3 separate regions of the Homo sapiens genome follow, and all the other regions are linked to region 1. The links are contacts of gene promoters, found by promoter capture Hi-C in blood cells and fetal thymus (Javierre and others, 2016). All regions are on one chromosome and are shown on one strand. Each heading gives the region's core, a stretch centred on a gene start or on the middle of the fragment in contact. The rest is flanking DNA. Distances are from core to core; before and after follow the strand shown. Region 1 holds the start of PGCKA1 (PDCD10 and GCKIII kinases associated 1). Region 2 holds the start of PGM2 (phosphoglucomutase 2). Region 3 has its middle 47 kb from the start of PGM2.

Region 1 (4,794 bases), core at 1,312-3,811:
ACAACACTGAGTCAGAGTTTTAATTTTCTGTTTCAGGACACGTATTCATTGGCTTGGTGTTTTACGTATGTTTTAGGAAAGGATTATTTGATAATCTACAGTCCTGAAGATTTTAACTAACCTCTGTGGGACTATGATATTCTCGGGTGAAAAGGGTACAAGTAGATGAGCGATTTCATTTTCAGTTTATTCTCTTAAATAGCAGTCAGAGTAAGAAAGGCTACAACTGGAGACACAGGATGGCTCAATGGTTAAGAGCAGGCACTCGAGAAAGACTACATCTGACCTGCACATAGGTGAAGACTCCAAGTCGGCTTCCCCTAGGATGACCCCTTTAACTCAACTCTTTTCTACACACCTACAAAGTCTCTCTGTAAGCATGTAATCTAATGACCAAAAAGAATGACCAAAAAGAAAATCTGCCTAATGACCAAGAAAGAAAAGCAGGACATAGGTACTAGTTACTATTTAACCAAGACTGTAAAAGATCCCAAGATTCAGGGTTACCAGAAAAATTGTGTAACTAGGGGAATGTGAAACACAGTCTAGGGAGAGGAAACCTAGCTACTGGAAGGCTGGTATTCAATTATTTGGAAACTGGCGTCTATTCCAAGAAGCACCGTGAATGGGCTTCCGGGCACCAAGAGCGGGCTGTTCTAGGAGGAAAGGGGCCGGCCCTACCTGTGCTCTGCCCTTGGGCTGCAAATGGATTCTGGCCGGAGCTTAGCCAGGTTGTATTTCCGGCTCAGAGAGGGTCTGGGTGGGACGTCAAGGGAATCATTCCATGTTTAGGATAATGGAACGTGTTGAGTTGGTATGCAAGGTTTTGTCTTCAATCCCAGATATCCAAAAAGCTCTTTGAAACACAGGAAAGATTGGCCCTATTTCTCTTTAGGTATCATTATTTATCTAAATCTCCGGAGCCATTGAGGACCAAGATCATACTTGCTGAATAAATGCACGGAGCAGGATCAGAGGATAGACACAGAATGGGCCAAGAAGAGAAGTAAGCCACACCTTCCCTTCCTGTCTCAGCATCTGTTCCATTTCTGCTCAGTGACCCAGGCAGCTTGCTGTTAGCTGACTCTTCACACTTTAGGGAAATACAAATAACTCCAGAACTTAACTTTACCTTTGAGCTTCAAATTGTTTCAATTATGTACCTTGTTTCAATTATCTGCCTCCTGACAGTGTTTCACAGCTGGGACCAGTAAGGTGGTCTATGATCTTTAACATCTGTCTTATCCTTCCTAAAATAGTATCAACTGAAGGATTAAATGGGGAAGGGGGAGGGGTAGGCAACAAATATAGACTCTATTATGTTTAAAAGCAGTAACCGCTTTCCATTTCTTTCTCATTCAACTCTCAAATGCTTCTCTTCTTTTCTCCAGATATTATTCCTCATAAGAGCTTGCTTGATTGCAACCACCAAGGACATCCACAAACCAGGGCAAGAAGGACCATCCGTAATTCTTTCCCATAAATAGTGACAGGAAGAAAATAAACGCCCTATTCTTCAATGATTTGAACCACCTCTGGAGCACAAACTTTCTCTAAATTCACAGGGCAAATATCCATCATGGGGCAGGTATCTATGCTGCCATGGAAAGTAACATAAAATGTACTAAGTCATCACAGGGAGTTTTAATTTTGTTTTTAAGGTCAATTGCCATGCTGGGGTAAAAAGCATTGATCCTTGCCTTTTATCACCGGAAAAATTCTTCACCAGTACTTTGTGAAAATCTCGCCTCATCAGGGCTGCCAAGGTCAATGCAACCTAAGTAACCAAGCTGGGAGATGCTTGCCTAATTATTAAATATTTAGCAAACAGTTTGTGACTATTTAACTGTTTGCACCTGGCACCCTCTTTTCACTACGTGAGGCCTCCTGGCACCCTGACCTCTTCCCCCACCCCTACCCACTGCCCAGGCCGCCAGCACCCCTGGGGGGCAAATACCGGGACCCAAGGGCATTTCAAAGAAACAGCAGAGGTCACATTCCATTTCCTTTTTATTAAAAAACATACTTAAAATGGGGGAGGAGGGCACAGATCTAAGGTAAAATCTCTTGCAGTTTTTTCAAGTTCGCATGCACCGTTGAAAGTTCATTAGTTAGGGATTTAAAAGCAAAAATGTTTCACACAACCAATTAAACGCCAAGCTTTACAAACGCCTTGGTCTTTGGTTTTGGGAATCTGTAAAAGTCCGCCTCCCCCCACCCGAGTTTTGCCCCTTTTAGAGCCCCTTTGTTGAATTACGTGACTTTTCCCGAAGTCATCAAACTTTGAATTGCGTCTCTAATTTTTTTTTTCAGGGCAAAAGCAAATCAAGAAATTAAACTTAAAAGTAGGCGACTCGGAGAGAAGTGGGGGAAAGCTCGCCCCAAAGCCAAGTTCCGCAGGACTAAAGCCCTCTTTGCGCGCGCGGGGCGGGGGATTGTCCCTACCTGGGGCCAGACGGCGGCGGCGGCGGCGGCGGCGGGGTCCCGGCGCCCATGGCTTCGCCGGCCTCGGGCAGCCGCGCCGGGAGACGCTAGCGGCTCCGCGCTGCCCTGAGCCCGCCGAGCTCGCAGCGGCCGCCCCAGCGCTGTCATTGGGCCCGCGCGTCACGTGGCCCGGGCTGCGGGTGAGCCTTCCCGACACGCGTAACCCTTTACCTGCACGCCCCGAGGATGCGGCGGGGCTAGGGCTCGAAACCCTGGAGTACGATGTCCGACATCCCCGGGGCCGGGGTGGCAGTCCCGGGCGCACTGAAGCAGAAAATCCACGCGCTTGTTGGCCTCTGAGCACAAACGACCGCGCCAACCGCCTGCCATCACGGGAAACTCCGGGGTGCTTACTCCAATGTTGCGCTGGAGAGAAGGGAGCTTCCTATGATCAAGGGACTGGAGTACGGGGATACACAAAACAAATGCACCCGCTGGCAAATAGTTGTGTACTCCCAAACCCCGAGAACTTGGCATTTTTCAGTTTCCTCCTTATTTCTGGCATTCGCCGCCTAGACCTGCTGTGAGTTCCATGGCCAGCCCTGTATGAGCTACATGGACCTAGAAACAGCGGGGGCGCCACCACCACGATAAAAACCAGGGAAGTTGCACACACTCGCCTGCACCCTAAAGGCCCCAGGGGGAGTTCAATGAACTCCTGGTTCCCCGTCCCCTCCTCACCCACTCCCCCTCCATCCCTTTCTTTTCCTGAGGTCTTAGGGCATTGGCCACAAGACTGCATCCAATCTACTGAGTTCCACATTCGTAGCTGTTACAATCCATATACCTAAGGCGGGTGGAGAACTGACTCTGCTTAAGGACTGGACATTCTTTTCACCTGTGCTCCAAAGCAAATGCTGAGCTTGCCAAAAAAAGTGTTAAGCAACTGCGCCACCTAGCTTACCCTCTTCTCTCTTCTTTTCAACTCATCCAGCAAGAGAATAAAATAGGATATTGGAGAGGCATCTGGACAGAGTATTATCTAAGGATGGACATAGTGTCCTTGGGTTTTCAATGTATCTACTTTAATGATGCCAGCCCCATTCACATGATATTTGCCAGGCTTTTGAGAATTTGAACACTCCATTTTTTGAATCCTTCTAATTTTGCAGTGCTGGGATTGCACGCTGTAAAGTGTTAGATTTTTGCAGGAAGTTATATGTGGTTTTACATCCTTTGTCACAATGAACGGCACTCATGTCCAACTTATAGTCGACACTTAATTGTCTACAGGATATTGATACATTTATCAAGTAGGTTATCTGTCGAAAAAGGGGTTGGTATTTGTATTGGGTTTCATTTTATTTATTTATTTATTATTATTTGAGACAGGGTCTGGCTGTTGCACACAGGCTGGAGTGTGATGCGATCTCAGCTTACTGCAACCTCCTCCTCTGGGGATCAAGGGATCCTCCCACCTCAGCCTCTGGAGTGCCTGGGGCTACAGGCTCATGCTACCATGCTCGGCTAATTTTTGTATTATTATTATTATTATTACTATTATTATTATTATTTTTGTGGAGACTAGGGTGGGGGTGGGCTCTCCTAAACTTGCCCAGGCTGGTCTTGAACTCCTGAGGTTAAGCAATCCGCTCGCCTCGGCCTCCCAAAGTGCTGGGATTGCAAGCTGAGCCACCGCGCGCCCCAGCCTGCCTTAGATTTTAAAGTGCAGTTCCTAGACTAATAGCATCGGCATAATCTGAGAGAATGTAGTAAAAATGCAAATTCTTGGGACCCACCCCAGACGTATTGATTCAGAAATAGTTGGGGAGGGAGGGTGAAGAAATCTGTGTTTTAGCAAGTGGTACCTACTCCAGTTTGCGAACCGTTGCTCTGAATATGCACAGGTAGCTGGCGAAGTTCCCCTCATCTATTAAATAGTAAGGGCTGGCATTCTATAAAGCTAGAGGTGCTGCTTTTATTTGTATCCCTAGATTACCAGTTTTATGTAATCTGTCATGTTGATACACTGAAACTGAACCCTCCATGTGTCCATACAACGTGTAATCTGTACTTCTTGCAGATCTCTTGGAATGCCAAATTGAGATCTGAGGGGCCCTTGTAAAACATATGGAAGAAAAACCTATGGTTTCTTGATGCACACCAGGGTGAAAACACCATGATTCACTTCATTTTTTAGGTGTGCCCATGTTTTCACTGACATGTAAATTGTTCCCAGCCAATGAGTCATGAAAGATAGGAAAGCTAATTTTTTTGAGTGGATTTATCAACATGGTTCCAAATTTGTGAAAGAGTTCTAAAAAACAAACAACATTAAAAACATTATGGTATCCGTTTATGTTATAGCCC
Region 2 (4,794 bases), core at 1,294-3,793, 370 kb before region 1:
ATGATTCATTTAAGTTCATTATACATTGCCCTATTTTTTTTTTGTATGGTAGTTGCAGAAAATGTTATGGTTGGAGAAAAATAATGACAATCACATTAGTTTCATATGAGACTTTTAAGTTATGAATTCAGGAAAACAACAGAGGAAGGACTTTATATTCCTGTTTTACAGTCATTATCCATTTAGATGAGCACTCACGCAGGACGTGGCCATTTAATTAAACTTTGAAATACTACTGCAATAAAACCTTGGCTTTCTGGAATTAAGCCCACATTTCCAGATTGTGGCAGATTCAATGGGAATCAAGTAAACCCCATCTTTTTTGGTGAAAAACAGCAGATGCTAATTACAGAACACAGTCTTACCTATCAGATTGTCAGGTGCCCCAAAGAAAGGCTCAGATCAGGTACATAAAAGAGGCTCATAAAAGAGCCTCAATAAATATTAGTGGAGTGAATCAGAAAACATGGACTTCACTGCCACACTCAATATCGAGTGATCCTCCCTTGTTCATAGTGTAGGTCTGGAAAATCTTAATTGGTCTTTGATATCTATGAAAGACTAAGTAGCCTGAGAGAAACAAAGGAGACAGACAGGTAAGAATGACAAGTCAAGAGTACAGCAGGATCAGAATCAGCCCTGGCAGTGAGCAAAACTGACAGCAGAGAAAAGAGCAGGGATGAAGGCACGGTGGAAAGACAGAGGGCACCTGCCAGGGCGCCTTGCCAGTCGCCGGGGGTAGTCTGACTAGAGGGCTGCAATGCTTTTAGCTGGTGGGAGGTTCACTGGAGAATGAATGGGCTTCTTCTCAGGTGCCAGTCTCAAAGCAAAGAAGAAATTAACAGAGGATAGAACATGAGAAGTGATTAAAAAAAAAAAAGGACATCTCATCTCTACCCAGAGAAATACAATTTTTCTATACACAGATGCAACACTGTGTAGAAATTAGATTGTTTTCTTCTTCTTCTTAGAGAAAGTGCATTATGAACTCTGACTTCAAAAGAATTCTGTACTCTGCAAGCTACAAGTTATCAGAAATGGAAACATTTTTCTTCCCTTGTGAATCACAAGGTTATCTTCCCAGGAAAAGAAAAACGCCCCCAAGGAGTTGCCAATAGCATCCTGGAAATGGGATTTGCTGACATTTTATTTGTAGGGGCCAGAGAATGGTAAATAAAGACAAAGACCTGACCCCTACTGACCTTGTAATCTTCTTTGTTCATTCAAGTATTTCAGTGACCTACTATGTGTCATGCACTATGCCTATGCCAGGCACTACAAACCAAGGTAGTGAGAATAGAGAGGCCTGGCCACATAATTTATGGAGGTCCAGTGCACAATGAAAGTGGGTGACCTCTTGTTTTACCAGTAAGACTTTCAAGACAGGACAGCAGGACATTAAAACAACAGTGGGCCCTTCAAGGAGCGCGAGTCCTGTGAGACTGCAGGGGTCTCTCGCCCCTGAAGTCGGCCCTGGAGACAGACATTAAACAAACCTACAAACAAGTGTTTTTGGAGTTTTTTGTTTTTACCATTTGTAGTAAGAGCTATAAAGGAAAATAACAGACTGTTTAGAGTGAATATTAGGGATAAATAATTTAACGCTTCGGAGCCAAGGAAGGACTGACTCTCTACGTAAGCCACATTTAAGTTCAGGCACAAAATATGAGTCACAACGGGAGAAACAAGTTCAGCAGGAGAGCAGCGAGGGACATTCCGAGAAAACCTAACAGCAAGCAGAACAGGTCGAAAGGGCGAGACGCAAGTTTATAGAGAGGAGAGGGAGTGATGTCCAGAGCTGGGTTCCTGATTCTAAGAAACGGAATGAAGAGAGAGAAAACCGTGCTGTGTCCCAGGTGTGCCTCCCTGGCAGTCAAAGTTCTAAGGGGGACTCCTGAAGCCAGGCGGGCCCACCCGGGAGGACAACCCACGTTTGTAACCAAGCCCTCGGGATGGGAGGACCGGACCAGAACGCTGCTCTGCAAAGGTCTCAGCGGCCAAAGGAATACGCGGGACGGAGCGATTCTGGGTCCATGGGGATGCACAGCCGACTACCGACGACGAGCCAGCGGTCTGAGTGACAGTAAGGCGTGCGCCCCTCAACTAGACAGCGTCCAGGGTCTGGCCGCGCTTACACCACCCTGGCTCGCTCCTCTACTCCGAACTTGCAGTCCGGCCGGCCGGATGGCTGGTTTCGTCCGGGGACAAGCCTTCCCGGCCTAACTCTGAACGTGCCGCATGCCGGCCAGGTCGAAGGAAGCCTAGCAGCGGCCGTACGCTCCTGGGTCTTCCCGGGGGAGAAGCGGGATGCACTGGGCGGGAAGGCAGCTCAGGCAGAGCAAGCAGCGCCGCGCCTGGAGAGGGCAGAGCACCCGGCCCCGCTCCAGGCGCTCCCCGCCTGCTGGTGCCCCTCACCTTGTCCCAGCGCAGCCACTGGGCGGTCTCCTGGTCCAGCCGGGCGTCCTCGCCTAGACCGCTGCCTTCTGGAGCCGCCATCGCTGAGCTTGTGCTACCGCTGCAGAGGGAAGCAGGCGGTGAGATCTGCCTTCCGGCCCGGCCCCAAGACGTGGAGGCGGAGGCGGGGGCGGGGAGAGCCGCGGCGGAGCCAGTCGGTCCGGGGGAAAGTGACGCGCGCCGCGGCGGGCACGCCTCCTTGCCGTTTGCGGGTGCGCTGCAGGGGGTGGGAGTGAGCGAGGAGGAATTGCGGGGCTAGGGTGGGTTGCTGGAACCTGGCACGTGTGAGAAGGGTTTGCCATCGTCTCTGATGCATCCAGGCTACAGCCAGCCGTGAGTTCCTGCTGCGCGCCAGGCACATGTCAGATGCTGGGATACCAGGAAGTGCACCCAGATAGGGGCCTGAAGACTATGTAGAAACTCAGAGGGTCAAGAACAGCCAGAAAAAAATCTTGAAAAAGAAAAGCAAAGTAGGAAGACCAGTGGAACATAAGATAGAGACCAGAAACAAAAATACACGTGTATGGACAATTTATTTCAGAGGCGGGGCTGCAGAGCACAGGAAGGAACTATTTTTGGTTAATGGTGCTCGGTCAAAGGGATATCCACGTAGGGAAAAGAAAAAAGGGAACTTGGCCCCCTACCTCCCATCACACACAGCTCTGAACTCCAGATCAATTGTATCTCTAAGTGCGAAAGGTAGTGTAGCAGGAGGAGCCGCAGACAAAACTCCTCAGACACCGGATTAAAGAAGGAAGAGGTTTTTATTCGGCCGGGAGCGTCGGCAGACTCGCGTCTTAAGAGCCGAGCTCCCTGAAAAAGAAATTCCTAGCCATTTTAAGGGCTTACAACGCTAAGGGGTCTGTCTACGTGAAAGGGTCATGATAGATCAAGTAAGCGTGAGGAACGTGACTGGGGGCTACATACATCAGCTAACAGAACAAGAAGTTTTACAGTGCTTTCTCATACGATGTCTGGAATTTACGGATAACGCCAGTAGTTTTGGTCAGGGGTTAATATTATTATTATTATTTTAACCACCAGGGCCAGGTGGTGGCGCCAAGGTCGTCTAGCTATTTATCTTACTTCTGTTTTTTTCCAACTTTTTGCTTTCTCTCTTTTCTCCTGTCTTATAAACTAGGGAAAAGGGGAGGTGGGGGAGAAGCTGGGAAGGACAGCAGAAATGGTGGTCTCTTTCCATAGTAGCGTGAAACTTAGGGAAACTAACATAGGAGCACATCTTCCTGACGCTGGTATCACCAAGCCATAAAGAAGATGCATACCCATAAGCATAAAAAAGCACGGGCAAGAATATTTCTAGCAGCATTATTTGTAAAAGCCTCAAACTGGAAACAACCCAGATGACCATCGACAATACAATGGATAAATACTTGGTAGTATATCCATACCAATTCATATAAATAAATCATGGCACATTGATAGAGCAATGCAGGTGAACTACTGTTATACACAACATCATGAATGAATCTCACAAACACTGAGTGACAGAGTTCAAACACCCACCCCCATACCCCGTCACCCCAAAATACTGCATCATTCATCTGTAGTCCCAGCTATTTCGTGGTGGGGGAGCTGGAGGGAGTCCTGAGGAGGGAGGATCGCTTGAGCCTGGGAGGTCGAGGCTGCAGTGAGCCCTGATTGTGCCACTGTTCTCCAGCCTGGGAGACAGAGGGAGACCCTGAAAAAAAAAAAAAAAAAAACACTGAAATATATAAAATTATAGGTAAAGGAAACAAATCAGTGATTTTCAAGAGCTGGGGGTTGGGGGAGGGGTTGACTACCTAGGGCACAAGGGAATTTGAGGGAGTTGTGGAACTGTTCCGTATCTTGATTGAGTTTGGGGTTTACTTTTATCAAAACTTATAGAACTGTACGATATAAAGGGTAAAATTCACTGTATGTAAGTTATATCTCTTTTTTTTAAGTTTTAAGATTAAAAACTAAAAAGGAGGCAAAACTAACCTATGGATGTCAGCAGAGTGGTAGCTTTGGGAAGGAGGGAAAGTGCCTTCTGGGGTTCCGGGACTGTTCTGTTTCTTGACCTGGACGATGGTCAACAGGTGTGTTGACTTTGTAATATTCACTAAGCTGCAATCTTATGAGTTGTGCATTTTCCGTATGTTCTTCAACTTTATTTTATTATTATTTTTTGAGACACAGTGTCGCTCTGTCACCCAGGCTGGAGTGCAGTGGTGTGATCTCGGCTCACTGTAACCTCTGCCTCCTGGGTTCAAGAGATTCTCATGCCTCAGCCTCCTGAGTAGCTGGGATTACAGGGGCGTGCCACCATGCCCGGCTTATTTATTTATTTATTTATTT
Region 3 (4,794 bases), core at 780-3,279, 330 kb before region 1:
GAGGGATACACCAACTGACTCATTGTGTTACAATGCTAGTTCAGAAACTCCCAGGCTACCCTTGTTCTATCATTCTCTTTGGAATGATCAGTTTTGTGATTTGTACACAAATCATAGTCCTAATACAGTCTGTGTTTTGCTAACACAGTCCTAGTTTTAGCTAACCACACAGTATCATTTCTGCATAGAAGTAAGAATTCTCATTTTTCCAATGCTTAATTGATTCTTAAGGGAAGAGTACTTCATGTGATAGGATAATTTGGTTTAGATTTATCATGCTGAGCATCTGATAAGACAAATTAGTAACTCTGCCTGTTTGAAAGAATTTAGAAACACAACCAGTTTAGCCACCCCATGTTGTTCAGCCAGTATACAAACCCGTCTTATGTTCTTGGATTTTTCAGAACCTCTCCCTATAGAAAAAAACGCCCTTTTTCTTTGCTTGTTAAGTTCTTTTATCTTGGCACATGTGCTCAGAAATTGTAGGTAATATCTAAAAGGGTAAAGAAATATAAACAAAGCATCCTTCCAAACAAATCTTCATCAAGTAAAGTTTTATTTGATGTTGAGAAGTCTATTTGTCTAGCAGGAACAATGAAGATCAATGGCCCATCCGGGGGCACTCTCTCCCCAGGAAATTGCAGTGGTTTTCAGCCCAGCCTCTTTCTTCTCTTTGCCTGCGTCTCAGCTGGGACAGCTTTGAAAATCTAGAAGCAGCCATAAAAGGACCCACACAGGAAGTTTTCATATTCTACTGAGAAAGGGGACATAGTAAAAAACAGGTCATTTATTTTTACATGCTCCTTTGCCTTTTTCTCCTCTCCTGCTTATTGTCCCATCACAAAAATTGTGAAAAGGAGTAAAATCTTGTCACCTTAAGATCCACCTAAATGTAAAATGTAGAGCAATTGTAGTTACCACTGTTCTGTTCAGAAGCAAACAAGATAATTCACATATGTAAGGTAATATGGTTTGGCTGTGTCCCCACCGAAATCTCATCTTGAACTGTAGATCCCATAATCCCCCTGTGTTGTGGGATGGACTCAGTGGGTGGTAATTGAACCATGGGGGTGGTTATCTTCATGCTGTTCACATGATAGTAAGTGAGTTCTCACAAGATCTGATGGTTTTACAAGGGGTTTTTCCCCCCTTTACTCTGTATTTCTCCTGGCTGCCGCCATGTGAAGAAGGACGTGTTTGCTTCTCCTTCTGCCATGACTGTAAGTTTCCTGAGGCCTCCCCAGCCCTAAGGAACGTGAGTCCATTAAACCTCTTTCCTTTATAAATTACCCAGTCTCAGGTATATCTTTATTAGCAGCATGAGAACAGACTAATACATAAGGGATGTTGTACACATCAGGGACTATAAATCTGTACAGTTTATGTTAGCATGTAAGTGCACAAGCAGTGGTGTAGGTTCTTGGTTTTGTTGTGTGCTGTTTAGTTCAGCCTGATGAAAAATGATATCACTGCATTTGCATAGTGCACAAACTTTCTTTGAGCAAGAACTTCCTTTTCCCTTGGATGGGCCATGGGAGATACTACAAAGGACAAAACAAGCCTTGTGAACCTAGTGAGATGATAGACAGCATTCTTTAGGAGGTTACAAAAGAAGGTCATGAAGAACAACTATTGTCCCTGACCCAAATCCCCTAATAAGGTTTCTAGGAGACTTTAATTCAGCATTAAGCTTCCACAGGACATACTTTAAGAAAGGGTAGAACTGAATGAAGGTCTACTCAGGCTAGCTTTCTCTTTTCTGGCAGCATCATCAGGCACATTGAATTTCACATTTTTTTTTATTTTTTAGTTTTTTGAGACAGAGCCTTGTTCTGTCACACAGGCTGGAGTGCAGTGGCATGATCTTGGCTCACTGCAGCCTCTGCTTCCTGGGTTCAAGAAATTCTCCTGCCTCAGCCTCTTGAGTAGCTGAGATTACAGTCGCACGCCATCATGCCTGGCTAATTTTTGTATTTTTAATAGAGAGGGGGTGTCGCCATGTTGGTCAGGCTGGACTTGAACTCTTGACCTCAGGTAATACACCTGCCTTGGCCTCCCAAAGTGCTAGGATTACAGGCATGAGCCACCGTGCCCAGCTGAACTTCACATATTTTTAAATGTAAAAAACATTTTTAAATGGAAGTCAGTCATGATTTTCTTCACAAACATTTCATTTCACTGCAATTCTAGCTTTTCTCCCCATTAAGAATAGAGAGTGTGTTAGTCCATTTTGTGTTTCTATAAAGGAATACCAGAGACTGGGTAATTTGTTTTTAAAAAAGAAGTTTATTTGTCTCATGGCTCTGCAGGCTGTAGAAGCATGGCATCAGCATCTGCTTTGCTTCAGGGGAGGCCTCAGGAAGCTTTTACTCATGGAAGAAGGTGAAGGGAAAGCAAGTGTGTCACATGAAGAGAGAGGGTGCGAGAGAGAGAGAGAGAGTGGGGAGATGCCACACTCTTTTATACAACAAGATCTCAGCTGAACTTACTACCACTCATTACCTTGAGGAAAGCACCAAGCCATTCATGAAGGATCCATCCCCATGGCCCAGCACCTCCCACTAGGCCCCATCACCAACACTGGGGAATCACATTTCAACATGAGATTTGGAGTGAACAAATATCCCAGCCATATCAAAAGGGTTATTTTCAATTGTTATTGTGAACGTGTTCTCTTCTGTCTTGTCAAAGCTCATTAACACTGCACACTCAATCTGCAGACAAAATGGTGGACAAGATTGTTGAATGGGTCAGTGAATATCCGTCCAAGGCTGAGGCACTTCTGTAGGGCTCAACAAGCTGTGGCAATCAACAACAGTCCAACCGAGCAACACACATATACCATTGAGCCAAGCATGGTGCTCAGCGTAGTGGGAGAAAACAGAGACTAACATGGTGTGTATTTTAAGGAGAAAAGGGGAGGAGGAATTAATACTTATTGTGCACTCACCATATACTTGGCACTGTGCTAGCCATTTTAAAAATACACAAAGAAATTACAGGCCACAGCTGCTGCCCCTAGGAAGCATGCAAGCTAATTGAGGAGTAAAATGCACACACACACACACACGCACACACACACATTTACACACACTACCTTACATTCTTTTTGGAACAAACCAAGGCATAAATAACAAAACAATTACTATGACTACTGCTAACAGCTAATACTTATGGAGTGTTTTCCATGAGCCATGTTCAATTGTAAATACTTTATATGTATTAACTCATTTAATCCTCTCAATTTAATGGGATTGGCCCTATTATTTTTCCATTTTACAACTATGGAAAATGAGGAAGAGAGGTAGGCTGGTAAACAGTAGAGCTGGGGTTTCAACCTGGGCAGTCATGCTGAAGACCCTATACCATTAACCCTACAGACTATGCTGCCTTTGTACATCATGTATGTACATGAAAAGTAAGTTGTGAAATAAAACTATAATCAGGTAGCCTTGCTATCCAATATCAGGAACTGATTAGATGTGTGTGTGTGTGTGTGTGTGTGTGTGTGTGTGTATTTATTTATATTAACATACTGCTTAGGGCCCTCACTATCCATACACTTAATACTTGCTCTTTGAAACTGGGAACCAAATATATTTAAATAATATAAGTATCCCTTGCTACCCAAACTCACTACTAAACCTTCACCATTCAATCTCAGAAACTGAATAATTTGGAAAGGAGTGATACTCGTATAAGGGTCAAATAATTGGAACAAATAATGAACGCAAAAAGAGATGGCAGTTGAAGTAAAGTTCTCAAGGACAAATAGATGTTAGTTCAAAGAAGGAGAAGGCCAGAGCAGCTGAGACATTCAGGTAGGAAATAACAACATGTGTTCACAACAAGTAGATTCGAGAGCCTGTGTATGGAGAGGGGCCAGAGATGAAGCTAGACAGGGACGCAGGGTCTAGATTGTCAGGGCATTGATTGAACTTCACAGTGTAGACAATGGTGGTCATTGGGTAATTTTAAGCAGGTAAGTGATGTGATCAGATTTGTGAATTTAAAAGATCACTGTGGCTTTGGGATTTCAAAAGATTCCATGTTAAATGGTTCTGCATGTTTTAGAATACTGTGTGGAAGGAATGGTATCTGTGCTGCAAACCACAGAATCCTAATGGTGAGACTTTATTGCTAGGTAGCCATGCTGGTGTGAAAACCCTTGGAAGAGCTACGGGGAGGGTGGGGAGTGGATGTGGTGGCTCACGCCTGTAATCCTAGCACTTTGGGAAGTTGAGGCAGATGGATCACTTGAGGTCAGGAGTTTGAGATCAGCCTAGCCAACATGGTGCAACCCTGTCTCTATTAAGAATACAAAAATTAGCCGGGTGTGGTGGTGCACACCTTTAGACCCAGCTATTCAGGAGGCTGAGGCACTAGAACTACTTGGACTCAAGAGGTGGAGGCTGCAGTGAGCTCCAGTGTAGGTGATAGCATGAGACTCCCTCTCAAAAAAAAAAAAAAAAAAAAAATGAAGAAGAAGAAGTAGAAGAACAAGAAGAAGAAGCTACAGGGGACAGTGGAGCTGCCAAGCTGCCACCTGGACACATCTCCAAATATACAGATTATGAAATGTGGCTACCTGTGCAGCATTGAATTTCTTGTTGATCCTTCCATCGCACAAAATAAATTGGAAAGCTACATTTTGTTTATAAATGGCATAGACATTATGTACATTTATGAAGGGATTTGAATTCTTCAAAACAACATGGAACTGCTTCTTCAAGGACAACAGAGAGTGTCTTCTGCTGCTTCAAATCTCTCTGTGTTCTGTCTCTGACTCTTAGG

The links. Contacts are between HindIII fragments. The CHiCAGO score rates a contact against its expected background, and 5 or more counts as called.
Region 2: a contact is called between the fragment with the promoter of PGM2 here and the fragment with the promoter of PGCKA1 in region 1, in 1 of 17 cell types (endothelial precursors). The highest score is 5.6, in endothelial precursors.
Region 3: a fragment that was not itself captured here is called in contact with the fragment with the promoter of PGCKA1 in region 1 in 3 of 17 cell types (naive CD4 T cells, naive B cells and endothelial precursors); the score reaches 7.3 in naive CD4 T cells.

Annotation. Positions count from the first base shown.
Region 1 is chr4:37,451,692-37,456,485 of GRCh38, reverse strand. It overlaps PGCKA1 (PDCD10 and GCKIII kinases associated 1), which reads right to left and starts at 2,561. Exons shown (of 4, transcript NM_001104629.2): 1 at 2,446-2,561. LOC124900691 (a long non-coding RNA gene) reads left to right here. Exons shown (of 3, transcript XR_007058098.1): 2 at 896-1,006; 3 at 1,392-2,169. The HindIII fragment of the contact is 3,173 bases long and covers 2,163-4,794 here.
Region 2 is chr4:37,824,435-37,829,228 of GRCh38, reverse strand. PGM2 (phosphoglucomutase 2) reads right to left here and starts at 2,543. Exons shown (of 14, transcript NM_018290.4): 1 at 2,416-2,543. The coding sequence starts at 2,496. RefSeq lists enhancers at 1,871-2,370, 2,371-2,872, 3,905-4,074 and a silencer at 2,361-2,660. The HindIII fragment of the contact is 6,567 bases long and covers 1-4,794 here.
Region 3 is chr4:37,776,838-37,781,631 of GRCh38, reverse strand. No RefSeq gene overlaps it. Among named protein-coding and RNA genes, the nearest start is that of PGM2, 47 kb to the left of the region's middle. The HindIII fragment of the contact is 673 bases long and covers 1,693-2,365 here.